Regions from separate parts of the Homo sapiens genome. Here region 1 is linked to region 2. Evidence: promoter capture Hi-C in human tissues and cell types (Jung and others, 2019). All regions are on one chromosome and are shown on one strand. Each heading gives the region's core, a stretch centred on a gene start or on the middle of the fragment in contact. The rest is flanking DNA. Distances are from core to core; before and after follow the strand shown.

Region 1 (7,433 bases), core at 755-3,254, 100 kb after region 2:
AGATGTTGCAGCGTGACTGAACAGCATCCCGATCGCCTCCTATGTGAACTGTAGAAAACGTTGTTGATGATCCCCTTAATTTGACATGGCTTTTCACAACCATCCATAATTGGGTTTTGGGGTGTTTTTTCTTTTATGACACAAACAGATCTTTGGAAGAAATAAGAGGTCCTTAGATAAGAAATGGTAGAAATCCGAGGAAGATCCATGGAAGAGATAAGTTGCTTTTTGCTAGTGGGAGATTTGCTGGAGGTGGTTGGTCTGTATGGTCAAGAACCACAAGAACCCTTAGGTGGTTGAGTTTATTGAAGTGTGTCATGTGATTTTCTCTATGGAGGTCAAGGCTGGAGAAGGATCTGGAATAGCATAACCTGTGAGGACTAAAAACATACCCTCTAGGCCAGGTGGAGAGACTTTTGGAGTATAGAGTCTCCAGTGCTGTCCTAAGGAGGCCTGACCTCCTACAGAGTCCTTGTGTACCAAGGAGCCAGGCAGCCACACACTTAGCGATGCCAGCATATGTTGTTCCCCAAGGAAGGAAAGTGCTTCATTTCTGCTAAAACCCAATGTGTATAGCTAAAACCTGTTGTTCTGCTAAAACCTGATGGGTACAAACTGCAAAAAACAAAAAAACAACAACCTTCTTAAGACAGCATTTCATAGACTCACCATGATAGCAATCTTGTTTTTGAGGCAGGGCTTACCTACTTCAGATACAGGTGTGTACTAACATCTGGAGGGTTTCTCTAATTCTGGGCTTTATGAAGCCAACCCAAGGGTCAGCTGAGAATGGTGGGCCCACACTGTGTAATAAGACCCATACAGACTCTACTCTCCTTGAACAGAAGGAGGCAGTAGAGCATAGAGGTTGAGGACAGAACTGGGAGTGGGATTCATTTTGAATCCCATGCCATCACTTTAAGTGGTGTGTTTGGGATGTGACTTTTACAGTCTTTCTGTTTTTTTCAGTTGTCCCGTCTGCAAAATGGGAATAATAACACTTATGGTCTATTATAGTCGTTGTCAATGAGGTAGGTAGAGTGCTTAGTGTAGCACTGGGCACCACCAACACTGAGTGCAAAAGAGAGCCAGTAGGGCTTTGATTTAAATTTCCAGTTTTTCCCCATTAAGACTTTGGACAGCCTGATGCCTTTGTCTTCTTTTCTGGTCAGGTTCTGGTGGCTCCTGGCTTCTACAGAGCCCTCCTGCATGTCCATGTGCTCCTGTTCCACTGTCTTGAGAACAGCCACTGGTTTCAGTGACCAGCCTCCTTTTGAAGTCCCTGCCATTGCAATGCCTCTGCTGTCAAATACCAATTCATTAGCAATTGTTTTCCAGGAGGCAGAATTTTTCTTTCATATGAGCCCTCCATTCTATGCCTGTCTTCTTTCCTGTTTCATTGAGGCAAGGGAAATAGAATTTTATTTATTTATAAAATAAATTGTATTGTATATATTCAAGGTATAAAACATGTTAAGGGATACATGTGGATAGTAAAAAGGTTACTATAGTGAAGCAAATTAATGTATCCATTATCTCACATAGTTACCCTTTGTTTTTGTGGTGAGAGCACTCATTTAGCATGAATCTCATATAGAGTACAATTTTATTACCTATGACCTTCATGTTGTACATTAGATCTCTAGACTTCTTCATTCTACATACCTGCTATTTTGTATCCTCTGACATACATTTCTTCATTCCCCCACCCTGACCCCATAACCACTGTTTTGTTCTCTATCTCTGATTTTTTAGATTCCACATGTGAGGTCATGTGATTTTTTTCCCCCGTGTCTGCCTTATTTCACTTAGCCCTCTAGTCCCATCCATGTCGTGGCAAGTAGAATCTTGTTCTTTTTAAGACTGAACAATATTCCATTGTATATTTGTACCACGGTTTCTTAAGCCATCTGTCCATTAGCTGACACTTAGGTTGTTTCCCTGTCTTGGCTGTTGGGAATAATGCTGCAATGAACATGGGAGTGCAGATGTCTTTACAAAGTGGTGATTTTATTTCCCTTGGGTATATGCCCAGAAGAGGGATTGTTAGGTCATATGGTAGCTCTATTTTTGATTTCTTTAGAAACCTCCATATTCTTTTCCATAATGGCTATACCAGTCTGCATTCCCATCAATAGTGTATGAGTTCCCTTTTTCCATACCTTTGCCCACATTGGTTGTCTTCTGACTTTTTGATAATAACCATTCTAATGGGTGTGAAGTGGTATATCATGGTGGTTTTGATTTTCATTTCTCTTATGACTAATGGTATTGAGTATCTTTTCATCTATCTATTGGCCATTTTTATGTCTTCTTTGGAGAATGTCTATTGAGGTCTTTTTAAAATTGAGTTATTTGTTTTCTACTATTAATATATGAATTCTTTATACATTTTAGATATTAACTCCTTATCAGATATATAGTTTGCAGTATTTTTTTTCCCAATCTATAGGCTGTCATTTCATTTTGTTGATTGTTTTCTTTGCTGTACAGAAGCTTTTTAGTTTGATGTAGTCTCATTTATTTTTGTTTTTGTGGCCTGACCTTTTCATGTGATATCCAAAAAGTCATCAAGGCCAATGTCCATGAGCTGTTGCTCCTTCTCTTCTAGAAGTTTTATAGTTTCTGGTCTTATGTTTAGGTCTTTTATTTAGAGTTGATTTTTGTGTGTGGTGTAAGATAAAGGTCTGATTTCATTCTTTTCCATGTGGAAATCCAGTTTTCCCTGCACCATTTGTTGAAGACTCACCTTTCTCCATTGTTTTCCCTTGGTGCCCTTGACAAAAATTACTATGCTGTGTTTGCATTGTCATTTGTCCTAAGTTATTTTTAAGTTTTCCTTTTGCTTTCTTCTTTGACCCATTGGTTGTTTAGGAGCATGTTATTTAATTTCCACATATTAGTGAATTTTCCAAGATTCTTCCTGTTACTGATTTCTAGTTTCATACCACTGTGGCCTGAAACAATACTGTATATGAGTACAGTATTCTTAAATTTGTTAAGATTGTTTCGTGGCCTAACATATGGTCTATCCTGGAGAATGTTCTATGTGTGTTGAAGAAAAATGTGCATGTATTATACTGCTGTTGGACAGAAATTTTTGTCTATGTCTCCTAGGCCCATTTGGTCAAAAGTGCTATTCAAGTCCAGTATTTCCTTATTATTTTTTTTTTTTGCTTCATCTATCTATTGTTGAAAGTGGGGTATTGAAGTCCCCTATGATCATTGTATTGCTATCTATTTCCCCGTGTCCATTATTTGCTTTATGTATTTAGGTGCTCTGGTGTGGGGTGCATATATATTTACAATAGCCATGTCCTCTTGATGAATTGATCCCTTAAACTTCTTTAGTGGAAAAGTTGCTTTCTAATTGGTGGATTGGATTGGGCAGAAGTAGAGATACCTGAATCGACTCTGTTGCACCCATTTAAGAGATATTCCTTGTAGAATATTTCATGCCTAGTATGGGGAAGGTCAAGGCTTCTCAAACTTTATCATGTCTACAAATCACTGGAGGCATCTTGTTAAAATACAGAATCTGATTCAGTGGGTCTAAGGTGGGACCTGAGACTCTGTATCTTCAACAAGTTTCCAGATGATGCTGGTTCAATGGCAAGGGGATGGGCCACATTAATGTGTTGAAGAGTTGAGTTCGAAGATGGGCAATAGTAGATAGGTTATCTTTTCAAACAACAAAGCTTACCGTGCTCTTCTATACTAATTTTTATTTATTTAACTCATTTTAAAGCTGCATTTGAGGCATCAATAATTTTACAAAGCTCTAATATTCTTTCTCTGGGTAAACAACATAAAAACATGGTAAAGTCTTGACATATAAGTGTAAAAGGATTCAGGCATTATAGATGAAAGGAGAAAACAGCAAAATTGGGTTGCATTAGTTACATTGGTTAATTCTGAAAAGCTTCTAAAAAGAGGTGTTTTGAACCCAGCTTGAAAGATATGGCAAATGTGGATTAGAGGATATTAGAAATATACTAAGTTAGTATACTTGTACAGGGCAGAAGGTGGAATTAAGCCTTAGGGACAGCTGAAGCAAGGTGAGTGGGGGGATAGGAGGGAATTTGCCCAAAGCAGAGACCAAGAGAAAACTGCAGCTTATTAGTAGTTAGCAGAGAAGTACCCAGCCAAGCTTGCAGAGAGCATTACGAAAGGGTTTAACAATATGTATTAGGAAACAAGGTCCTTTAAGGTAAACTTGAGCTTCCCACTCTCTATCAGTGGGGCCTGTCAGAGGACCCTCATCCACAGCAGTAGGAAGCATTTTTACTTTCTGTACTTTGGCCGGAACATGTTTACTTTCAGCTTTGCTTGGTTTGGTGGTGGGGTTCAGACTTCTTGGGAAACATTGATTAGCTCTCTGAGGCTTTCTGTGGCTGCCCAACTTTCATTCATTGGACCATTCTTTTGTAAATTCAATATTGTTGAATCTAGTGCCTCTATGTCTACTGAACCTCATGCTAAAGGTGTGATAATTGCATATTTGCAGTTAAATAGCAATAGCAATAATAGCACACACAAATATACCATCTAACTTACGGAGAGATGCTTTCCTAATGCCTACCAAAGAGCTTCCTACGCTGTGAGTAGACAGTGGTTTTAGGTGATTAGTTTCTGTTCCCCTTTTATTTCCCTAAGCAACCCCCTTTTTAAGTTGGAGATCCTTTCTTTGAGTTGAAGAGGTGACAGGGGTCATCTTTTAGGTCATGGAAGATCCTCTCAAGAGGTATGGGACTGCAGAGGTGAGGTGGTGTACAGAGTTACTGTAAGATGAATGACTACCAAATTTTAATGAGATTTTTGAGTAAGTGGAGGTAAACAGAGGGATGTTTGTGAAGGGGAGGGGATTAGTAGCCTTAGCTGTGTCCTACTAGAGCTGATACTCATCTTTTGTGAAATATCTGGATAACTGAACTAAAATATTCTGTTTTGATCTTGCAGATTAAAACAGGAATTTCAAGACCATATGTCCTGGTTCTCATATTCTTCAGAATTCTCAGTTGGGAAAAAACACTTACATGTCCAAAACTTGGAATTTGTTGTCTCTGAGTTTTCCTGGGTTTGTCCCTGGGTTTCCCTTGTTTCCCTGTTCCTCTATCTCCTGGAGCCATGAGACCCCCACACTGTTTTTTCTGAGGCTCACTTTTGCCGTGGAGAGCAGTTGTGAGTCTCTTCAAGCCATAGCTCTGGGAACCACAGTTTTCAGAAATTGCCATGCAAGGGACCATAGAATGCCACAAGTATCTCCTACACTCTCTTCAGCGACAGAGTGCCCCTGATGTAGGCTGTATTTCCTTAGGGTCTGCATGCCTTTTCTGAATGATTCTGAAGGGGAAAATATAACAGAGAGGCTGGCTACCCTATGAGACCTATCTATATTACACTTAAAAAACAAAGCAGAGTAGATTAAAAAATAGATCAGTAACTTTTTAAACTTCAAATCTGACTTACTAAATACACAGAGTATTTGTCTCCTGGACATGCTGTCTCAATACTGGCTGTGGCTCATCTTAGTATCCTCTCAGGGCCCCAGAGAGGCCCAGAGCATCCTCTACCACCAGATTGCTCCCATTTTGCCATAGCCCACTTTGCACCAGAGACCAAAAAAAGTGTTTCTCAAGGTGAATTTATCTTACAGATACTGCTTTTTTAAAAGTAGGGTTGCCAGATAAAATGATGCCAATTAAACTTGAATTTCAGATAAACAGTGAATAATCTTTTATTGTAAGTATGTTGCATGCAATATAGAAAACAAAAGACAAACTTATTTGCGTTTTTGTTCTGTTTTGCTAAATCCAGTAATCCTCAGAGCAGGGTTTGTTCCGTTTTCTTGTTAATTCACTGACTAAATATCCTGGGCATCATTTTCAGCATTATTATGCCACTCTGCTTCAAAGTGTTGAATGGCCCATATTTATTTTCAAAAATAAATGAATTATATCTAATTTTGCTTTGAGAAATTAATAATGCCATTTGACACAATTAGCTACCCCTAGTGTATTACAAAATCAGAGACAGGTATTACAGATGTTCAGTAATATGAAAAGTTGATGTTATGGAATTGGGTTGCTAAGCTTGACAAAATTGTTAATTTGGATTTAACAGCGAAGCATGAATCTTTAATTGTAGAAAGACATTAAATACTTTAGTATACTGTGCTTTTTCACAAGACATATAGAAGTTCCTTGAAACAATTATTATACAATTATGCTATCACTTGCTTCCTACATAATAAAGAGAATGTGGTTCATAACTCTGAGGAACTTGAAAAACTTATTTGCGAATGACATTATGACTATGTAAGTACATAAAAGGGAAATGTTTCTGATCGTGATTAGTTTGGGCTTACCATGTTTGCAAGAAGAGATATTTAACTAGAATCAGATTTAACAATTTTCATCAGGCTGTTTACAGTTGAGAAATTAATTAAAATGTCATCTGTTTAATTACTATTTGTTATCCTTAATTAAAATGTTAATTGAGTACATTTGTGTGTGCACAATACTTAATATGTTGACTTTTTGACAAAAGCCATGACAATGTCTTCTACCTTTTATGTTCAAATGTTTGTCGACTTAATGCAAATATTTTGGGGAAAAGATGCATATATTAAAGAAACATAAGAGCATAGTTTGAAAGATCATTTTTTTCTGCTAGAACTGTGTAGATAACCGATCTGTAGGAAATTAGCACTTTAACCGCAGAAAGGAAATCTACCAGAGAGTGCATTTTAGTCTTGTATTTGCATATGAGAAAGAAGGACAGAAATTAATCAGCTGTAAAATGTCCACCCAGAATGACATTTCTAAGTAAAGAAATTGATTATGGGGAGATGCACTTTAAACATGTTCTTGCCTCACTGACAGTGAGAACAGACTAAAAGATAATGAAAACCTTTATATTCTTTTATATTGATGTATACTTGACCTTTTCATTTGAGCAACATTTGAAATAGTTGTTTAAAACAACATATAGAACTATGCTGAAAAATTGGTTTGGATTTTCTTTTAACAATGGTCATGATTTTTCTTTTTCATGCAAACCTGTGGCATTGACCTCTTTTTAGTAAATAAACATATGCTGATTGTGTTTTGAAAAGCAATGATATCTCATAGATCAGTATAAAAGCAAAATGGTTCCTTTTCAAATAATTTATGAAGGGTAGTGCTTTCCCAAAACAGCACTGGTTAGCAATAGCATCCAGTGTGCCCTACCAGCAACACAAGTCGTGGGGGATTGAAAAGACAGATGATGGAATAGACATAGCTCTTTGCTCCTACTGAGCTTCAAGTTTAAAGAACTTATTCTTTTCTTTTTCTTCTTGATAAACTTTATGACTTTAATGTCTAGTGGAATGAGATGAGCCAGTGCTGCTTAAGAAGTAATAATAAGCATAACAAATATGTAGTTTTATT
Region 2 (7,340 bases), core at 4,137-6,636:
GGAGCCGCCTTATCTTAGGCTATGCCAGTGATAGGGAGGACTGGGCTCAGGAAGGAGACAAATGTGGCCCTGTTCCTCTGAGTCATAAATGTTATCAAGGAAGGGCACACGACCATGATTACAGCTTGACCTCAATTGGTTCTTCGAGAAGCAGGAACATCTTCCCCCTGTGTTTCCTACGTTAGCGGAGACGGATGTTACCATGTCCATGTTATTAATAACACTAGGTGCTATAACAATTGAATTCCCAAATTTCAGTGACTCGACACAGTGAAAGTTTCTCTTTCACCCAAAAATTCAATGTGGATGTTTCTAGTAGGGATGCAGCATTCCTCAGCTTGGAAATTCGAGGACCCTGGCCCTTGCATCTTGAGCTGCTAATCTCTATCTCCATTGGCAGAAGGAGAAAGAAAGGGTGAGGAGGTGTCTGCTTCTTGACTTCCTTGGCCCAGAAGCGACCTGCATCACTTCTGTTCATACTGTAAGTAAGAACTAGATACTTGACTCCATCTGGATGCAAGGGAGGGAAGGGATATGTAGTTCCTGAGTGTGTGTGGCAGAGGGGACAGCCTCTTTCCAGTAAAAACTCTACATTATTGAAAGGGGAACATGAACCTTGGCTGGACAGGTGTCTTTTTGCCAACCACATGTTATAGGTCAGGAATTGCAGTATAGAAATGTGAAAGGGTCAAGATAATATGACTTATTAATGGCAAAGTTAGGGGTGGAGCTCAGCCTCTTTTTCCCCCCAGAAAATACTCGATGGAACCTTCTCAGTGTTAAACCCCATCTAAAGGGAGAGTGGAGTAAAAGAGAGAAAAGAGAGCTTCTGTGGCCATGGACAGATATGAGCATATAGGCACCCCTTCCCTGGGCTCCTCATTTCTCAGGTCTGCCTCCTTAGGCATTGCAAGCAAGTATTCATATATTTAAATGTGCTGCCTGCTGGCTGCCTGTGAGGAGAATGATTTCCTGAATGTAGTACATTTTAAATTTTAGTGAACGTCATTTCCTGGAACGTTTGCAAAACAGGCAGCTTCCCAGGCCCCATCCCAGCAAGTCTGATTCAAACAGCTCTGGGATAGGGCCCAGAAATCTGTGCTTACAATCAGCACCCCTGTGATTTTGAGGCAGGTGGTCCTTGCAACACACATAGAGAGGCACTGCCTTGATTAGTACAAGTTTTATGAGGTTTGCCTAAACAGGTGTTGCAGAGGCTAACTGTGACCTGCCCTTATTGTCTTGTCCTTGACCCCTGATTACATATCACCTGCCTACTAACTGCCAGCCCCTGCATTTTTTTTCCAGAGGTCTTTACATGATCTCTGGAGGCTGCTTTGCCATCCATGTGATAGGCTAGAATTGCCAGAGAATAAACATCATCTGGTAGCAGTTCTTAACTAACATCTTATAAGTGTTGGTGTATAGATACCCCAGCTCCCTCATCCCTCAGTTGGACCCACTCTCTGCTGTGTGTTTTACACTGACTTCCAGAGTTCCCCACTGGGATTAGGTACCAGGTGCCTACAGTGATACCTAGCTTGATAATGCACCCTTTATTGGCTCACTTCCCCACCTGAGTACTGGGATTCCCTTCACCTCTTAAACTACCTGCTCTTGAATCCTTGTTTCAGGTTGTGCTTCTAGGGGAACCCAAATGAAGCCAGTAGAGATGCCCATATACCATATGTCAGAAATTCTTAAAGAATCTTTCCCATGACTCCTGTATGCAGGTATGAGTTGACTGTGGAAGTGCAGAACACACTCATTCATGACATTGGTGTCATGAATCTCATTGGCTCTATCTGACTGTCAGTCTAACATGTCTGATCTTGCTTCTAGCAGCCAGTGTCTAATAAACTGAGCAAAACCCACATGGTACACTCACTGCCATGTGCAGATGGTCTAGCAAGAAAAATATTGTCTTCGTTTCCAAAAGAAACAAATCCCATTCCCACTTTCCCCTGTCAGCTTTGCTCCATGTGGGAGCATCATGCTGTCGATATTTCTCTTGGGTGAGTAGCCTGCAAAGGTTCTCAGCCTTAATGATTACTCCAAAGCAGGAATTGTGGCATAAATCTCCATGTGTGGAATATGTATCACAGCTTGAGTTAAATGGACCCCAAACATATGGCATTGTTTTTTGCATTTTCTAACACATGGGCAGTTTCTCACATTTTAAATCAACTGAAAATGAGAAGATTATAGGCAAATCTTCCTGGAGGATTAACTACTAGGAAATATACTTGGTTTGAATAAACATTTGGGGTGGGATGGAGGATGAGGTCAGACACTTTCCAAAGACACAGTGTGTATTGCAGAGGGTGGGATCCCAAGGGGAGGCAAGGTGGATGACTCTAGAATAAGCTGCATGTCTGGACGGCCTGGTCTTCAGACACTCTCCCCTGACTCAGATTGCAGCAATGAGCAAGCAGCATCATGGTGTTTGGCCCTGACGAATAGAGGTTGTACAGCCAATAACTTTTTCCTGTGAATGTTACTGATAAGGACCAGTCCCTCCTGGAGACAATCTTTCTTCCTGTGTCCCAGTGTTGCTATCAGTCTGGGCGAATTATAACCTGTACATGGGCAAATTATAACCTGTACAGAAGGCTGTGTCACTTGCTCAGGGGCTACTAGATAAAGCCATTGGAAACACTGAAGAATATATAGAAGGGCTCTATTTCTTATTGACCAGATTCCATGTAGGATTTGAGTGATGGTTCTATTTTGAGTATCAAGAGTTAAAGATGATGCAAAACGAAGCATCGGACTTGCACTTTCCTTAGGAGAGATCAAGTCTAGTTTTCTCGCAGAAGGCTGCACCAAAAAGGGCAGCGATGTGCCTGTAAGACATCAGTTCTCTGCAGGTAATGATCAATAGGGAAAGGAGAAAGGCAGCTCATTAGGCATTTCTTCCCCAAGAGGCTCACTCGGCCTCCTTAGGCTTCCAAAGCCACAGCCAGCCTTATTGCCCTTATTATTAAAATGGGCCCACTAGAGCACCAGGCTGCTGCCCTCTTGGCTCATGCCAGGCAACGACCCAACTGGCCCTGCAGCTGGCCTCTAGCCTACCCTGAAGACGATGTGTGGTCAGCAGTTGTCGATGCCCAACGTATTTGCGGGCCTCCTCTGCCTTTCCCCTCCGTCGTGTCTCTTTTCCCCTCAAATTTATCAATGCACACGTAGTAAATGGTCTAAAACGGACTTATTCATACCTCTACGTTATCTGTGATATCATTGCTCAGACCGGGATCATGGGTCTGGAGTTTGGGGTGGAGTGGGCTTCCTGCTATAGAAATCAGGCCACTGCACTTACTTTACACTTCTGGGGGAGGAGGGATCTCTTCCAGTCCCTAAGAAAAGAAAATCTTTAAAGCGTCTTACACGCAGGCGTGCAACCAGGAAGTCCACCCAGCCCCATCTCCGCATAAATTAGGAGCTCTTCCCTCTTCCCACCTTCCTTGTCCCAAGTGGCACCGGACACTGATCACCCTCTTCAGAGCTGCACTAGACATTCACAGGGAATTGAGGTTCCCTATGCAGAAAGGTTTTCAGACAGAGGACCCAGCCCATTTTCTCTCTCCAAATCCTCCTCCCTCCCTCTTTTGTGGTTGCAGCTATAAAATAATGATTCAACAATCAAAGAGCCTCTCATGAGATGGGAGAAGGAAGGGAACGAAAGGGGAAGAGGTGCCCTGGGCTGAAAACCTGTAGATTTTTTCTAAGTGACAAAGGGCAAGGGTCCTTTTTTGAAATTAGGAGAGAGACAGCTGTTTCCTCAATCGAAACTTCGCACATTACAACCAGCCTTGGGAAAAGCCAACACCACCAGGGAGGAAGTGCTATGGGGTTTTGAAGCCAGACACTGATTTCTGGCTGTAATACTTTCCAGCCGTGTCTCTAAGCCTCGGCTTCTGCCTCCATCTGTAGAGTGGGCTTAATAATTTTGACCATCTCACAGAGTTGATGTGAAAATTAAAATAACCCGAACAGAACAGGCGATATATACAGGAATTAATGAAAGATTCCTGACATAATGCTTATAAGTTCATGATGCTTAGGAAGATAAAATTCATTGTAGAGATGCCGAACGGGGGTCTAGAGCTTGCCTTTTCGGGGTCTCTCCCGTCCTTCTCCATCCTCCTTATCTCCTGGGCTGCCCCCTCTCCCCCCGCGCCCCGCTCTCCCTGGCTCGCCCGGGCCTAGGGCGCCGCCTGCAGTTGCGCGCGGCCGCCTCTAGATGGAACTTTCTCACCAACGCAAGGCCCGGCCGGAGCAGCTACCCGGGAGCTGGGCGGCGAGGGGCTACTTTCTCTCATTCCGGCGGGTGCAGGATCGGGGGGCCTGGGCAGTAACTAGTGGGGAGGAGCGCTGGACTGTGCACGTCGAGCCCGGCAGGTTTCCGCATGCGGCATGCGAAGGGAATCCCGAGGTTTCCCTGCAGAACCCGAGCACGGCTCCCCCGGAGTTTCCTGCCCCGCGTCTGCGGCTCCTTGAATCATCTCAATAAAATGACCGTCCCGGTAGCCACCCATGCCCCTTCCTGCGCAGTGCCCGCAGCGGACCGCGCTGTGTGGTACCTCGAGCCCTGGGGACTCTGTTGCACGCGTCCCTCAGACCCTCGGGGGCGGGGAGTGGGGAGACAATCGCCAGAGCCGCGGGGCGGGACAAATGGCGGAACCGCCGCGCGGCGCCAGGCAAACTTTGCAAGGGAACCGCGCGGCTTGCCGGCTCTACTTTAAGCATTCCCGAAAAGAAAGCATGTGGCGGGACACTTGTCATCTACCATGTGTTATTCTCGGTGACGCTTTCTGGAGCTGTGTTCACCGGGGACCCGGGCTCGCGGGTGCTGCCCGCTGTGCTCGGGCGGGCGTCGCGCCTCCCCGCGCCGGTCCCGGGCTCGCCAGGCAGCCGGAGCCGCTGGGCTCCTCCACAACCATATTCCTTCTTCTACCGCTCCCGCTTCTTCCCACCCTCTCACTCTGTAGTTGGGTCCTCCCCTTTTTCTTGGGGGCGGGGAAGGGGGGATGATTTTTAAAAATCAGAACTATTGACATTTCTGGTCTCCTCGTCGCTTCAGGCTGAAGAGCGGAGGGGGATCCGCGGGCCGAGGGTCCCCCTCCCTGCCCGCGCCAGGGCCGCTGGGTGACACCGAAATCCAGAGGCTCCCGCCCCTCGGGGGTTCCTCCTCCCGCTTCCCGAGGTGACTGGTTGGCGCGAAGCGATTGGCGATCCCGGGCGCGATCCTGGCCGCGGCTCCCCGCGCCGCGCCGGGTGAATGGCCGCGGGCGGAGGATCGGGAGGCGCCGGGCGCAGACCAATCGCGGCCGCCGGTGGGAGTATTTGTTATTCACATGGAAGAGACTTGGCGCCTGCTAGGCCAGCTCAGCCCCCTCAGCCCAGAGATCAGCCACAAGTGCGGCCGCTGTGCTCGCCTCACGCGGCGGCGGCGGCGGCGGCGGCGGCGCTGACATGGAGCTGCGGGCCCCCGGCGGGCTTCCTCACCGCGCCCTCTGCGGGGAGCAGGGTAAGACTCGCCGCCCGGCAGCAGAAAGCGGCTCCGAGGAAAGCAAGTGCCGAACCACGGGACAAAAAGCCCCTGGCCCCCAAACTTCCCCAAAACGCCCTGCTTGTTGGAAAAGGAGAATCCCCCCGTTTTATTCCCCTTTCCGTTTTCTTCTCTAAAACCTTTCAGCGGACAGCCAGGTGCACCATTCCTTCTCATATCACTCTAGTGATTTGTTTTTCCTGAGCACAAGTAGATGGCCCTGCATGTCCGTAGTCTGTGAGAGAAATAGCGGGCGGAGGTGACGGGAATGGGGGGAGAAGGAGAGTGGGCACCAGGGGGCGAGGGGCTGGCCGGGCATTGGAGCTTGATTGGGTGTCTGTTGATTTTACGTTGCAAAGAACAAGGCAGCCACCCCTCTTGTCTGCCCATGATTACATTACAGTAAAGAGGTTCAGAAAAGAGGGAGACTTTACCCGGAACTCCCAAGGCTTGGAGATGTGATCCCCCAAAAGTTTAGTCGGCGAATGGGAGACTGAAGGGTGACGGGAAGGGGGCAGGCGCGCTCGGCGCTCTGACTGGGCGTGCGGCGGCAGGATTTTAAAGCGCTCTGCCTCGGATCGTCTGCCCTGGGTGACCTCCCGGACCTGCCCTGGTGGAATCCGGACTTGCCCCGCCGAGATGACGAGGTACCTTCGTTTCGCGAACCTAACAGGAGGGATTTCTGAAGTTAGCGGCTTCCGGGATGAGTCGGGGTAACCCCCGCCCTCTGAGCGTGGGCTGGATGGATGTCTAACCAGGATCTAGGGAGGATGGGGGTCGCGGGGGAAGCCGGGCGCTTCGGGGTCCTCGACACCCACATCCCCGCACGGCGCACGCTCTGCCTCGAGTTTGCGTTCTCCGAGTTAGCACGGCGAGCTTGGGATTTCCGTGCCCCTCTTTTGTGGCTTTCGAGAAACGCCGGAGTTCCGTGTCCTGCTGGGGGTTGGGGGGATGGAGAAAAGGTCTCGGGGATCTTGTTTAAAAAGCAAAGGCAAACGCACCCCAACAGCTCCTCGGTAGCTCCCGCGGCTGGCGCGGCCCCAGTTTCGGGCGGCCCCGCGCGGGGCGTGGGCGCGGGCGCTCGGGCGGCCAGGTGCGGCGGGGGCGGAGGCTGCATCCCCAGCGCGCCGGAATGCCCCGGGGCGCGGGAAAGGCAAAAGCAGCCTGGCGCTCTCCCCACGGCCCCAGTCTCTATCTACCCAGAACCCGGCTTCAACAGCCCAAGGAACTGAGAAGAAAAAGGAACCTGCGCTGGGAAACAGGGGCTCCTGGCGGGCTGAGTGGTCGCTGTTATGGTAGAGATAGAAACGGAGAGGTAGAGATGGACCGCTCAGCCATGCCAAGCGCGAAGCCCATCCGCCCAGCCAGAAAGCTCGGATATCCCTTGAGCTTCGTACAGTTGGTGAAAAAATAACAGAATCACCAAAAAAGAAAAAAAAATTCCCTTCGTCTGACACGCGCTCCCTTGGTGCAAATGAAATGCGGAGGGACACGCGAGTCACCCAGTTGCGCAAAACCGCACCCCCGCGGTTCCCTGGGGAATTACTTCCCCCGTGGCCCAAACTGTGAAGCCTGGTGTCAGAGAGTGTCTGCGCACCCAAGATAGCGGGGGTGAAAACAGACCCCCTCGCCGGTTGCAGAAACCCTTAAGTCCCCTAAGCAAGTCCCACCCCGGGAGGGAGTGCCTTATTTGCCATTTGGGGGATCCTTTCCCACAAACCTGAAGGTGCGGGAGTCTCTGGAACACCCAAGAATACACTAGAGTCTGGGCTACTACCGCGATTGAATA

Evidence for each region. The method cuts DNA at HindIII sites, captures the fragments that hold promoters and counts their contacts. A contact is called where the count stands out against the background at its distance.
Region 1: a contact is called between a fragment that was not itself captured here and the fragment with the promoter of GRM8 in region 2, in 2 of the 25 tissues and cell types used here (aorta and bladder).

The regions. Positions count from the first base shown.
Region 1 is chr7:127,144,159-127,151,591 of GRCh38, reverse strand. All of the region lies in intron 2 of GRM8 (glutamate metabotropic receptor 8), which reads left to right. Among named protein-coding and RNA genes, the nearest start is that of GRM8-AS1, 67 kb to the left of the region's middle. The HindIII fragment of the contact is 4,065 bases long and covers 1-4,036 here.
Region 2 is chr7:127,250,987-127,258,326 of GRCh38, reverse strand. GRM8 (glutamate metabotropic receptor 8) reads left to right here and starts at 5,386. Exons shown (of 11, transcript NM_000845.3): 1 at 5,386-5,530. RefSeq lists a silencer at 4,119-4,178 and an enhancer at 4,299-4,548. The HindIII fragment of the contact is 12,389 bases long and covers 1-7,340 here.